Regions from separate parts of the Homo sapiens genome. Here region 2 is linked to region 1. Evidence: promoter capture Hi-C in human tissues and cell types (Jung and others, 2019). All regions are on one chromosome and are shown on one strand. Each heading gives the region's core, a stretch centred on a gene start or on the middle of the fragment in contact. The rest is flanking DNA. Distances are from core to core; before and after follow the strand shown.

Evidence for each region. Contacts are between HindIII fragments. The study calls those that stand out against the background at their distance.
Region 2: a fragment that was not itself captured here is called in contact with the fragment with the promoter of CCBE1 in region 1 in 1 of the 25 tissues and cell types used here (lymphoblastoid cells).

The regions. Positions count from the first base shown.
Region 1 is chr18:59,695,538-59,699,269 of GRCh38, reverse strand. It overlaps CCBE1 (collagen and calcium binding EGF domains 1), which reads left to right and starts at 1,847. Exons shown (of 11, transcript NM_133459.4): 1 at 1,847-2,058; 2 at 2,561-2,641. The coding sequence starts at 1,928. The HindIII fragment of the contact is 11,314 bases long and covers 1-3,732 here.
Region 2 is chr18:61,088,294-61,091,549 of GRCh38, reverse strand. No RefSeq gene overlaps it. Among named protein-coding and RNA genes, the nearest start is that of CDH20, 240 kb to the left of the region's middle. The HindIII fragment of the contact is 6,944 bases long and covers 1-3,256 here.

The sequences.
Region 1 (3,732 bases), core at 598-3,097:
TCATGGTTTTTTTTTTCTGACCTCATGATGATCACTCTCCAGTTTTGCAACATCCTGAAATGTCTTCTGAATTATCAAATAAAAATTAACTCATTTGTGTTAAGTAGCAGTGTCATATTTTAATATCAAGTGGGTGGTCTTCCGAATATGTAAGTTTTGTAAAATAAGCCAACAAAAAACACACCTCACAGAACTAAGAAATCAGATGCTCAGATTGAAGGGATATTGTGGGAACCAAATAAAATCTTGAATATGAAAAATCTTAGGAAAAGACATAGCATTCTACGGAAGAATGACAATGTCATTGCTATCAAAAATATCAGTGTGGGCTGGCTGCTATGGCTCACGCCTGTAATCCCAGCACTTTGGGAGGCCGAGTTGGGCAGATCACTTGAGGCCAGGAGTTTAAGAGCAGCCTGGCCAACATGGTGAAACTCTGTCTCTACTAAAAATACAAAAATTAGCCGGGTGTGGAAGCATGCATCTGTAATCCCTGCTACTTGGGGTGCTGAGGCAGAAGAATCTCTTGAACCCGGCAGGCGGAGGTTGCAGTGAGCCAAGATCGAGACACTGCACTCCAGCCTGGGCGACAGAGTGAGACTCCGTCTCAAAAAAAAAAAAAAGTCAATGTGTATGTGATATGTGTGGTAATTCTCAGTTGACCAGCATATTCTGTATATCAAAATATGTGCTTACCTAACCAATTTACACACCGGTCACTTGTGAACAAGCCACCTTTTTACCTCGTTGTCCTGTGAGATGCAGAACCACGCATATTTTAGAGCTTAGGCATTAGAACTTTTCCTTTTTCAACTTATTTCTGGGCCACATCCACGTCCCCAGTTTCTCTGGAAAAGGCTGAGAAAACTCCTAAAGCGCAACAAAGTGTTAAGTTGCTGACACACGAATTACAATTAGGGTCACCGTCAAGGGAGCCGATTTACGGCCCCCCTCCTCCGTTTTCTTGTTACCTATCAACGCGGCTGCATACACTAGCAGGTAGCAGCACCTGTAATTAATTTGCCCCCACGTGTCTCATTTGATGGGGGGGGGCGTTTCCAGCTCTGATGTGCGCGGCGTGGAAACAGTATTAAAGCCGCTCAGGACAAGGAGATGTAAGGCTCCCAGAAAGACCTCCTTACTTGTTCCGAACTCGAGTTATGAAGAAGACAGCGCATGGTTTATTGACCAATGAAACAACCAGAGAACTTTCTTCTAAAGGTTTTAAGGAAGAGTGATTACACTATATAAATAGCGCTATTTCAGGTTTGAACAATTTGAGAGGCCCGTTGTAGCCTTTCAACTCCTCCTTCCTCACATAATCTAAGAGAAAAGAAGACTAAGATAGTTGCAAATCTCAGGGTAGGTCCTCACGGAGGAAAGACGAACACTGGCCTGACCCTGGGCTTTAGAAACCCATGGACAACAGGAAGGAAGCTTATTAACCCCTCTCTTCCCCCTCCCTCTTCTCCCCGGTGGAGAATCAGCTCCTCCTCCTCCCGGTCGTGAGACCCTGGTGCAAAATGCAAACAACCGCCCGCTTTCCCCACCCTGCGCGCTTCTCCCAGAGGAGGGAGAGGGAAGAGGCGAGGGCGCAGCCCCAAGCCGAGTCCAGCAAGTCTGTCAATCGGACGTGAACGTCCCGACGAGACAACTTGAACCTCAGGGCCCTCGCGCCAGCCGGACACCGCAGGTACCCCCTTTACCTGCTTCTCTGCTGGGTTTGCATCCGATACCCCAACTCCTAGCCTCATTTTCCCCCCAGCCCCATAATATTCCGGACCCCTGCTCCCCGTGCAGGTGGTGCAAACGCCCCTGCTCTCCGGCGCCCCCTGCCGGGAAGAGGGAAGGCGGCGGCGGCCGCGGAGGAGCAGGACGCTTGGTCCGGACGGAGCTCGGCGCTGGGAAGAAGCCGGGAGCTTCCCTGATGGTGCCGCCGCCTCCGAGCCGGGGAGGAGCTGCCAGGGGCCAGCTGGGCAGGAGCCTGGGTCCGCTGCTGCTGCTCCTGGCGTTGGGACACACGTGGACCTACAGAGAGGAGCCGGAGGACGGCGACAGGTAAGCGCTGCAAGCCCCAGCGGAGGGCGAGCTCCTGCTTGATGCGCGCCCGGCTCGCGGGGTGCGGGCGGTCCTCCCCGGCGCCCACTCCCACAGCGATCCGCACGCCCTCACTTCTCCGGGGATAAGGAGAGTGCTCAGCTGTCCTGGGCGACACTTCCCTCCGCTCCCGGGTATCAGCCTTTGCGCCCTGCCATCCGTGGGTCGCGTCAGGGATACCCTTCGCCCCGCGTTCCTGCCTCCCCCCGGGTGCCACACTGGCTGGCACAGCTCGTGAACCCCGCTTCCTTTCTCCTGGAGCTGGTTCGCTTCGTCGTGACCCTCGCGTGGCTCGTCCCTGTGGCCGGAGTCTGCCCCGCGTACGCGTTTGGGGACCAGCCCCTGCCCAGAGCGCCGGGACGGGGAGCCTGGCGATCCCCACGCGCCAGGGATTCCCCAGCGCGCGCTGCCCGCCTCCGCTCTCCCGCTGAGAATCGAACATTTCCTCTGCACTTTTTCATAGAGAAATCTGCTCAGAGAGCAAAATCGCGACGACTAAATACCCGTGTCTGAAGTCTTCAGGCGAGCTCACCACATGCTACAGGTAAGCCTGGGGGCTCTGCGGGCTGTTCGCCACTGCGCACCGGGGCTGGCTGGGGAGGCGGCGCTGTAAAGGAGGGGTTTGGAGACGCGCTTGGGACCGGAGCAGCTTTTACGCTGGAACCTGCTGGGTGCGTGCCGCGCGGTGCGAATCTTTGAGGGTTGGTTGGATCGGAGTCAGAGCAACACTGAGCAACTGACTTTGCGTCTAGGGTGTGTGCCCTGAGATCCTGAGGATGGTTGCCGCTCCCTGAAATACTTGTGTGGAAGTCTGTGAAGGAGATTGGATTGGATTTTGGGTGTAAACAGTGGGGCATAGCAAACACGGGTGGCTGCTTTCGTATTTGTGTTTTGTTTTGAAAGTACAGCGTCAACAAGGCAATTCTTGGCACTTGTCTGTCTTCTGACCTTCTGTTGGGGCAGAGTGTGGCTGTCACGGCCTCTGGACAAAAAAGTAGGGGGAGGATTGTGAGTGGTTGTGTTGAGTGAAAACAAAAAGATTGTTGGGGCAGAGGAAAAAAGTCTTTCTAAAAATGTGGGCCACAGATTCACCTGGGTATTTGTTAAATGAGTGACCCGGGTGCTTGTTAAAACTAAGCGTGGATGGGGCTAGGGAATCGGTAGTTATAAAATGTTCCCCAGGTGGTTCTTGTCTCTGAAAGGAGAGAACCACTGTTCTGCTTGCAGCCTTTTGGAGATGAGGGTTGATTTAGGTTTTTCACCATTGAATTCTTGGTTCTGTTCCAGTGCTCTCACTGGATAGGGGAACATGCACCCATAAACGTTTATTGGATATCTGCGTTTTAGAGGCGCTGTACAAGGTAATGTGATCATATGCCCACACCTGACTGTCTCTGGAGACTCACATGCTCTGTTCGGGTTGCCAGGATAAATACTGAGTAGTACAAGGTAACGCAGCAGTCCCTAGAAACGAACTTGAAAGAAAACAATGTTTTATTCCTTATAAGGTTGTAGCCTGTGAATCAATCATAGCGTTTCTTGCAGGTGAGAGCATTTCATATACCCAAAGGTTCAGACCAAGTGGTTCCACGGCTGTCAGTTTATGGGTGCAAAAGCACCATCAGTTACATCGCG
Region 2 (3,256 bases), core at 312-2,811, 1.4 Mb before region 1:
AAAAAAGCATTTGACAAAATCTAACACTCATTTATGATAAAATTTTTCAGTATATTTCAAATAAAAGGGAACTCATCAACTTGATAAAGGATATCTATATAAAATTTACAGCTAACATGCTTAGTGGTTACATGTATATGGTCAACTGTTCTTTGACAAAGAAATAAAGGCGATGCAGTGAAGCAAAGACAGTCTTTTCAACAAATAGTGCTGAAAAAAACAGTATATCCATATGCAAAAAAAAAGAATGTAAACACAGAACTTAAATCCCTCACAAAAGTTAGCTCAAAATTGATTGCAGACCTAAATGTAAAATGCAAAACTATAAAAATCCCAGGAGATAACATAGGACAAAATCTAGACGACCTTGATTTTGGCAATAGCTTATAGATATGACATCAAAGACACAACCCATGAATGAAAGAATTGGTAAGCAAGATTTAATTAAAATTAACATTTTCTGTTTTGCAAGAGACACTGTCAAGAGAATGAAAAGACAATACACAGACTTGGAGAAAATGTTTGAAAAACCCTATCTAATAAGGGACTGTATCCAAAATATACTAAGTAGTCTTAAAACTCAACAATAAGAAAACAAACAACCTGCTTAAAAAATGGTCCAAAGATGTTAAAAAAAAATACCTCACCAAAGAAGATAAACATATGGCAAAAAAAAAATAAGAAAAAATGCTTCACATCGTATGTCATCAGGGAAATGCAAATTAAATCAACAATAAGATATGGCCTATTAGAATGGGAAAATTGAAAACATTGACAACATCAAATGTTGGCGAGAATGTGGAGCATCAAGAACTCTTATTCGTCACTGGTGGAAATGAAAAATGACACGGTCACTTTTGAAAACAGTTTGGCAGTTTCTTACAAAACTAGCATACTCTTGCCAAAAGATCCAGTAATCATACTCCTTGGTGTTTATGCCAAGAAGTTGAAAACATGTCTACACAAAAACCTGCACATAAATATTTATAGCAGCTTTATTCATAATTGCCAAAAATTGGAAGCAACCAAGGTGTCCTTCAGCACGTGAATGAATAAATAAACTGTGATACATCCAAACAATCAATGTTATTTAGTGTTAAAAAGAAATGAGCAACCAAGCCATAAAAATATATGGAGTAAACTTAATAATGCGTATTACTAAGTGAAAGAAGTCAACGTGAAAAGGCTAGATACTGTATGATTCCAACTATATGACGTCCTGGAAAAACTGTGGAGAGGGTAAAAAGATCAGTGGTTGTCAGGGGTTGGCGGAAAGGAAAGATGAATAGGCTGAGAACAGAGGATTTTCAGGGCAGTGAAAATACTCTGTATGATGCTAGACTGGTGCATACATGTCATTATACATTTGTCCAGACCCATAGAATGTACACCACCACGAGCAAACCCTAATGTAAACCATGGACTTTGGGTAATTGTGATGTGTCAGTGTAGATGCATCAATTGTAACAAATCTAGCACTTTGGTTGGGGATGTTGATAATGGGGGAAGCTGTACATGTAGGAGGGTAGGGGATAGATGAGATATCCCCATACCAACCTTTCAATTTCGTTATGAACTACTCTAAAAAATAGCATTTTTAAAAAAAACAAGTTTATTCTATCTCATCACCTATTAGAAAATCCACTTTGGGGTAATTTAAGTGCTATTCTATACTAATATACTATATCAATGACATTCTGGTGTAGACTACAAGAAACTTCTAAAGAAGAGACAGAAGAGTATCAGCACTAATCTGTTAAGTCACTCTTGTATAGTTCCTTTCCCTTTATATTTAAGCAGTGTGTATGGTGGAGATGGTGGTGAGGCAGCAGGTAGGGTAATACCAAGATAACATATGGATGAAAAAATGTTACATAGTGTAATGAGAATTAGCTTTAAAAGGGCAATTGTTTCTATTTTAAATGTCTATTAAAAGTAAGTCACATAAGTTATGGTTTTTAATATGTGATATTTATTTAAATGTTGTCTAAGAGGAGGGTTATAGTATATTGGAGGTGCTAAAGAAACTCTCTAATATGTTAGAATATTAGTTTCAAATCCTGACTTAAACACTGAGTAGCTCTGAAGCCTACATTTATTTTCTTTCTTTCCCTTCCTTCTTTCTTCCTTCTTATTTCTCCTCATTCTTTCTTTTTCTTTCCTCTGACAGGATCTTACTCTGTCTTCCAGGCTGGAGTGCAGTGGTGCAAACATAGCTCACTGCAGCCTCAAACTCCCAGGCTCAAACCATCCTCCCATCTCAGCCTCCCTAGTAGCTGGGACCCAGACATATGCTATTTTTCATATTATTTTTCATATTATTTGTAGAGACGAAGGTCTCCCTATGTTGCCCAGGCTGATCTTTAACTTCTGGGGAAACCTGAATTTCATAATCCCTCTGCACCAAGACTTCCTTAGCTGGAGAGTAGGGAGTATGGAGTTATTGTGCGGGCTGACTAAACATTTTCTGAGAATGAGGCACCTTCACCTCATTATTTAATTCTGAATGTCAAATGTCATTACTTGAATCTGAAACTGATACACACACACACACACACACACACACACACACACACACACACACTCTCTCTCTCTCTCTCTCTCTCTCTCTCTCTCTCTCTCCATCTTATTTGGATCTAAGCCAAAACTGAGAATGTGGGCCATCTGCTGGTGACTTTTGGAACTTCAGACACATGTTTCCCAGGCCTTCACGTTTGAGGGGATAGGTAAGCATCTATGTAGAATGTCAGAATTGTGGGTAACCTTAGAGATTATCCCATGTAGCCTTCATTTTTATAGTGATTTGCACATGTTGGCTTTTAGCCGGTTGCAGAACCAAGACATGAACCCAAGTTGTCTGACTCCGAGTTGTGTGTAGACCTAAAGCATCAGGGGCAGCGGAGGATTGCTGTCACAAAGTGGGAGAGTTTCAGACAAGGAAGGACAGATTTGGAACACTGGGAGAGAAAACGTTTTCTCCGCTCCACACTTGGGCGGCTGCACTATGTGTGGAGAATATTGGCCTGTGAGTCAAGGTAACCACAGAAAAATGGTACATAATGGATTTTATCATTGCACCCTATATCTTCTCCACTCCAATAAGTCTCCCCTTCCTGCCAACCCTCATGCTTATCTTGTCAGATGCTCAGATACTAGCAGCTGCAAGTTTCTTCCTGAGTTTACCTATTATTCGCTTTCCTTTTATCATCAAAACTACTGGGAGGGTAGGCGATTATCTGATCAAATAATCTGATTA